Linked DNA regions of Homo sapiens: region 2 is linked to region 1. Evidence: promoter capture Hi-C in 16 types of primary human blood cells and fetal thymus (Javierre and others, 2016). All regions are on one chromosome and are shown on one strand. The core of a region is centred on a gene start or on the middle of the fragment in contact, and the rest is flanking DNA. Distances in the headings are between cores, read along the strand shown.

Region 1 (3,415 bases), core at 264-2,763:
CTTCCACCCTGTTCTGGCCCAGCCCAAGCACCCTCCACCCTACCCTGTCCTGCTCAAAGGGGCCCTGTCTACCGGAGCAGAACACTCCCTCTCCAAGGCTCTATGGCTCTGTAAGTCCCTCATCCTCTCTCTTCTTCTTCCCCCTCCACCTCGTGCTCTTTCTGTAGCCTTCTCTCTCTCTCTCTCTCTCTCAATCCTGACTCACTCTGCCTCTCTATCACTGTCTTTCTCTCCCTCCGTTTCTATGTCTCCATCCCTCTCTCTTGCTCTCCTTCAAGCTGCCTGTGTCTGTGTCTTTGTCTGTGTGTCTGTGTGTGGGTGTATGTTTGCAGGAGGGGCAGCGAGGTGTGTCTGGGTGCGTCTCAGCCCCTCTCTCCCGGGATCCAGGGTGTGTGTGTTGGGGGGAAGCTGTGGAAAGGGTGTTGAAGGAAAGTGACAATCAGCTTCCTGAAGGGCACTGACAGGCCATTATTCCTGTGGCTTGGCAAATTTTCTGTTTGAACTTATTTCTTGTTAAGGGTCCAAGTGTACTGACTATGGAGATAAGAAAAGAATAGCTCTAAGTAGCTGAAGCTCTGTGAGGTACGGAAGATTTTTCTGGCCCAGAGAGACTTGAGTATGGGATTTGAGACACATCTCCACACCCTTTCCCAGGGGCAATTGTTTAAAGGTATGTTGTTCCTAACTAGCTGTCTCATCTGGAATTTGTGATACAAAGAACAATGTATAGCCAGTCAGTGACTTCTGGATTTTAATGTAAATTTTTGATGAAAATTTTAGGAACTGCCTCTTTTCTTAAAACCCACTTGTAATGGTTACTAGTTGGAATGTATAATCAGGGCAACTTTAGTCTATGCTCTCAGGTAGGTATCCTAAACATATGCTTTTGAATATACTTTTGAAAATAGATTCTGACTTTTTTATTATGATGGGTTGACAGGGGACTGGCCTGGGACACCTGCCTGGGTGTAAATACCCCAACCATGCGCTGCCCTGCCCAGCAGAAGAGGCGGGTGGACAGCAGGCCCCCTTTGGTCAGAAACACATGCATTGCATAGCTGTTCTGGACCTGGGTCCTGCTTGCAAGGACAGTTCCACAGGCGCACCGGAATGCGCCTCCCCTTTCCACCCGCCAGCATTCCCAAGCACGCCTCGGCTTCTGACTGTTCTGTGCTTTGGGAGGAAAACTCATCTTCAGGTTTTTCTCCAACAGAAGATGATGATGACGTTGTTTAGACACTCAGGAACAGAGATTGCAGATTGGCTTAAGAGTGCGCCCTTTATTAAAGATGGTATGCATGGAAAGACATGGAACAATTTTGGAAGGATACAAAAAAAATTGCCCATTTTGTTAATAGTCTCATTCAACCCCTTTGCTGACCTCATCTCCTGTCACTCATAACCAAAGGAGGCGGGTCCTGGAGCCCTGTCCAATCAGGGACATTGACGTGGGAACTGTCCAATCAGGAGCGCAGCTTGAGAGGCGGAGGGGGTTTCCGGGATCTGGCGGGGCCTTTGTCTTGTGCTCCAGCTGGAGCTTTGGTCCCGTATTCTCGGCTATTTATCCCCAGCTGCGGGAGGCCCTGGTGACTCTGCTGCTGCAGTGTCTGGTTTCCCTGTGACCTGCAGGTACTGGGAGTTACATAGCTAAGATGCCAGGACACCCCGAAAGCCGGAAAACGGTGAGAGTTCCCGGGAGGGTGTTCCAAGATGGCGGTCCGGCCTCCCGGCGTCAGCACTAGAGTCCGCGGCCCGGAGTCCCGGCTGGCACCTGTGGGATCTGTCACCTCTGGGTAGGGGCGGGGCCAGGCCGCCGCGGGATTCTCCTCCCATCACTGCGCCGCGGCTTCCGCCCCGGCCTCTCTGGGCGGCTATGAAGCCGCAGCCCCGCGGGTCCCCCAGACTGTGTGCTTTGTCCAGAGGGGAGGGTCATCGGGGAGAAGCCAAATCGGTGTGCGAAACATGCGTGGGAAGAGCTGTTCCATGGGGCTTATCTTAGCTGTGCAGTCCATCCTTTTTCCTGTGAAAAATGGAGTCACTTTTAAAGCTTTGAAGAGTTTGAGGAAAGGGAGTTTCATGAATGGGAGAGCGCCCAGCTATGGTGTGTGGCTTGTGGGTTTATGGAGGAGGTGCTTGAAGGAAAAACTTTTTTGTAAGGTGCATGAGGAAGCAAGCCAAATTTAATAATTGACGACAGTTACAGTCACCTTATTTGGACTGTCCAGGTGGAAATTTCCTGGTTATTTAATTACTGATTAATTGGAGTTTTGTGATTGGTTGAACTTGGATTTTGTTTCTACTTAAGGCAGTCATTAACAAGAAATGCATTTGAGCTATTAATATTCTTTTTCATGTAGAAACGCAAGACACTAGAGCCACCTCAGTCTAATTGCCTGCTAATTATTTTAACACTGCACAAGAGACTGCTTTTCCCCTGCATTTTCCAAATAACATGGAAAGCAGGGTCTTAAATCCACTCCTCTGTTCTCCCAGCCTGACTCTGGCCTGCAATAAAATACTAAATTTTCAGTTTCTTTCCAAAATTCATAAAAACCACCATCACCTCTTCAGTTCACAACACTGTCAGCTATTTGTCTTTTATTGCGTACTCCAGGCACAATATTTTAATTAATCATTTTTTCACAGAACATTGGAGGGCACTCTTTGTTGTTGCTGTTGTTGTTTTGTTTGTTTTTGTTTTTTCTTTAAGAAGGAGTCTCGCTCTGTAGCCCAGGCTGTAGTGCAGTGGCGCGATCTTGGCTCACTGCAACCTCTGCCTCCCGGGTTCAAGCGATTCTCCTGCCTCAGCCTCCTGAGTAGCTGGGATTACAGACCCGCGCCACCACCCCCGGCTAATTTTTGTATTTTTAGTATTTTGTATTTTAGTTTCACCATGTTGGTCAGGCTGGTCTCCAACTCCTGACCTCGTGATCCCCCGCCTTGGCCTCCCAAAGTGCTGGGATTACAGGCGTGAGCCACCACGCCTGGCCTGTTGTTTTTTCCCTACCCGGCTTTTTTTTTTTTTTTTTTTTTTTTTTGGTTGAGTTGGAGTCTCGCTCTGTTGCCAGGCTGGAGTGCAGTGGCGTGATCTCGGCTCACTGCAGCCTCCGCCTCCTGGGTTCAAGCGATTCTCCTGCCTCAGCATCCCAAGTAGCTGGGACTACAGGCGTGCGCCACTACACCTGGCTAATTTTTGTATTTATAGTAGAGACGGGGTTTCACCATGTTGGCCAGGATTGTCTTGATCTCTTGACCTCGTGATCTACCCGCCTCTCCCTCCCAAAGCGTTGGGATTACAGGGGCGAGCCACCACGCCTGACTTGTTGTTTTTAAGAGGATCTTGCTCTGTCATCCAGGCTGCTGGAATGCAGTGACATTGTCATAGCTCACTGAAGCCTCCAACTCCTGGACTCAA
Region 2 (3,415 bases), core at 499-2,998, 940 kb after region 1:
GACCTCACACTTGCCTCTCTGACGTGGGTCTCTCTCCCAAACCCTCTTCCAGGTCCAACCACTGCCTCCATCCCAGACTTGCCCAGGGGCCCAATCCCTGCAGTCCTCAGACATCTCAGAGCTGTCTCTGAGTTGTTTTCTCTAACAGTCCACAATAGGTCTGCAAAGGAATCCTGCAGGCTCTTCCTGTAGCCAAAGACCTTGACCTCATCTTACCTGCTCCCCGCCAGTCCCCCACCGTGGCCCACTGGCACTGTCCTCTTCTGCCCAGGAGACCTGGGGACCTCATCTCCTCCCGCTGCTCCAACAATGCATTCTCAACCCAGCAGGTAGATGGGTTTCTACTTTAAAATATGTAGGATGAACCAGTCTGGTGATCCGATGTACAACAGGAGGAATGTAGGTAATAAAATTGCACTGTTTTGGGAGTTCCTGCTAAATGACTAGACTTCAGCTGCTCTTGCCACAAAATCCTAAAAGTGGTTGACTCTGGGAGGTGATGGGAATGTTAATTGCTCCCCTGTAGTGACCATTTTGCTATCTGTTTGTACTTTGTAACATCACGTTGCATACCTTAAATATACACAATGAAATTTATTAAAACAATGAAAATAAAAACTAAGCAAGAGCCTGCCCCTGCTGTACTCAAGGCCCTGCAGCAACTCAGATTCATTCCGGGAAAGCTTCGCAGTGGCCTGGGAAGTGCTACATAATCCACCCCGAGCTCTTCCTCTCTCGTCACCACTGTGCCCCCTGCTCCCTGCAGACCCAGCATGATGGCCTCTCTGTTCTTCAGCAAGCCAGGTGGGCCCTGCCTCGGCCTCTGATCTCCAGGGAACATTTCTCCCCCATACCTGTGTGGCGGTTGCCCCTCTCCTTCAGGTCTGCTCCCACAGGGTGTTTTATAGAAATGGCTTGAAACAGACGCCCTTCCTCAGCCCTTGACCACGCAAGCTCTGAGGAGCCACTGGTGTCCCTGTGGCTTTGCTGCAACCAGATCTCTCTGGTCAAGGGCAGCCCTAGGCAGGAGGATCTCCGAGGCTGGCTGTGGGTGACATGTGGAAGGAAACTGAGGCCAGGCACTGCATAGAAAAGCAACAGTTTGTTTGCTGGAAGGTAGGGGACACATTCTCAAGACACTGATGTATTTGTCCAGTAGCTCAATACTTTTTTCTCAACTCTTATTTTCAGAGCTTTGTGGGAAAGCCGTGGATAGTTGGGACCCAAAGGTCGTTTTCAGTTTCAGGATCCTGTGGCCAAAGAGAGGAGATAAAAATGCTTGGGGCCATTTTACCTTCTACATTACCTAACTGAGTAGCTATTATTTCATGAGGTTGACAGCAGCAAAATATAAGGAGATGCTTAAACTATTTAGTAACTGGAGAATCATAATTAAAACCATAATGAGATACTGCTTTAGCTCGGGGTGGGTTGGGGCGGGGGTGGTTCGGGCGGGTGGTGGGAACTGCAGCACTAGGTGATGTTGAAGTCTGAGTGATGATGGCACATTAGGTGAGCCCAGAGGTGCTGTGAGGAGTGTAGAATAAGGCCGCTGCTTTGGAGTGCAGTCTGGGGTCAAACTAAAAGGCATACCTTGGAGAAACCATGGGTTTGCTTCTAGACCATTGCAATACAGCAAATACTGCAATAAAGCAAGTCCCATGAAATGTTTGGTTTCCAAGTGCATATAAAATGCTTTTATAGGCTGTAATGTAGTCTACTAAGTATGCAGTAGCATTATGTCTAAAAAAGCCAATGTATGTACCTTAATTTTAAAATACTTTGTTGCTAAAAAATGCTAATGATCATCTGAGTGTTCAGTGAATTGCCATCTTTTTGCTGGGGGAGGGTCTTGCCTCAATGTTGGTGGCTGCTGACTAATTAGGGTGGTGGCTGCTGGAGTTTGGGGTTGCTGTGGCAATTTCTTAAAATAAGACAATGAAGTTTGTCACATCAATTGACTTCCATTCAAAAGACTTCTCTGTAGCATGTGTTGCTGTTTGATAGCAGTTTACCCACATAACATCTTTAAAAATTAGAGTCACTCTTCTCAAACCCTGCCACTGCTTTATCAACTAAGTTGATGTCAATTCTAAATCCTTTGTTGTCATTTCAACCGTGTGCACAGCATCTTCACCAGAAGTAGATTCCATCTCAAGAAAACACTTCCTTTGTTCATCCATAAGAAGCAACTTGTCATCCATTCATGTTTTCTCATGAGACTGCAGCAATTCAGTCCCATCTCCAGGCTCCACTTCCAATTCTCGTTCTCTTGCTGTTTCCACCACATCTGCAGTGACTTCCTCCCCTGAAGTCCGGGATCGCTCAGAGTCATCCATGAGGGCTGGAATCAACATCTTCCAAACTCCTGTTCATGTTGCTGTTTTGACCTCCTCCCATGAATCATGAATGTTCTTAAGGCATCTAGAATGGTGAATCCTTTCCAGCAGGTTTTTAAAAATTTTCTCCCAGATCCATCAGAGGAATCATTGTCTAAGGCAGCTGTAGCCTTATGAAATGTCTTAAATAATAAGACTTGAAAGTTAATTATGGAAGTTAACTTGAAAGTTAATAAGACTTGAATGTTGTGTTAATGGCTATTTTAATATTTTAATGGACTTAAAATAGTAAACCATGCAGTAAACAGATGTGCTGTCATGTAGGCTTTGTTGTTTCATTTATACAGCACAGGTAGAGTAGATTGAACATAATTCCTAAGGGCCTTAGAATTGTTGTAATTGGTGAATGAGCATTGGCTTTAATTTGAAGTCGCTAGCTGCATGAGCCCCTAACAAGAGAGTCACCCTGTCCTTTGAAGCTTTGGAGCCAGGCATTGGCTTCTTTCTAGCTATGAGAGTTCTGGATGGCATCTGCTTCTAATAGAAGGCTGTTTTGTGTGCATTGAAAATCCGTTGTTAGTGTGGCCCCCTTCATCAGTGATCTTAGCTGGATCTGCTGGAGAACTTGCTGCAGCGCCTTCATCAGCTCTTGCTGCTTCTCCTTGCATTTTTATGTTACAGTGATGGCTTCTTTTTTTAAACCGCATGAACCAACCCCCGCCAGCTTCAAGCTTTTCTTCTGCAGCTTCCTCGCTTCTCTCAACCTTCATAGAATTGAAGAGAGGATCTTGCTCTGGATTAGGCTTTGGATTAAGGAAATGTTGTGGCTGGTTTGATTTTCTATTCAGACCGTGCACACTTTCTGCATATCTGCAATAAGACTTTCGCTTTTTTATCATTCGTGTGTTCACTGGAGTACTTTCAGTTTCCTTCAAGAACTTCTCCTTTGCATTCACAGCTTGGCTGACTTTGGCACAAGTAGCATCTTTCTGCTTTGGATGTGCCTTCCTCACTAAGATTGATCATCTCTAGCCTTTGCCTTAAAGTGAGAGGTGTGTGACTCTTCCTTTCACTTC

Evidence for each region. The method cuts DNA at HindIII sites, captures the fragments that hold promoters and counts their contacts. A CHiCAGO score of 5 or more calls a contact.
Region 2: a contact is called between a fragment that was not itself captured here and the fragment with the promoter of ZNF678 in region 1, in 1 of 17 cell types (total B cells). The highest score is 5.5, in total B cells.

What each region holds. Positions count from the first base shown.
Region 1 is chr1:227,562,043-227,565,457 of GRCh38, forward strand. It overlaps ZNF678 (zinc finger protein 678), which reads left to right and starts at 1,514. Exons shown (of 4, transcript NM_001367909.1): 1 at 1,514-1,682. RefSeq lists an enhancer at 1,470-1,749. The HindIII fragment of the contact is 3,691 bases long and covers 1-2,045 here.
Region 2 is chr1:228,497,243-228,500,657 of GRCh38, forward strand. No RefSeq gene overlaps it. Among named protein-coding and RNA genes, the nearest start is that of RNF187, 12 kb to the left of the region's middle. The HindIII fragment of the contact is 2,135 bases long and covers 682-2,816 here.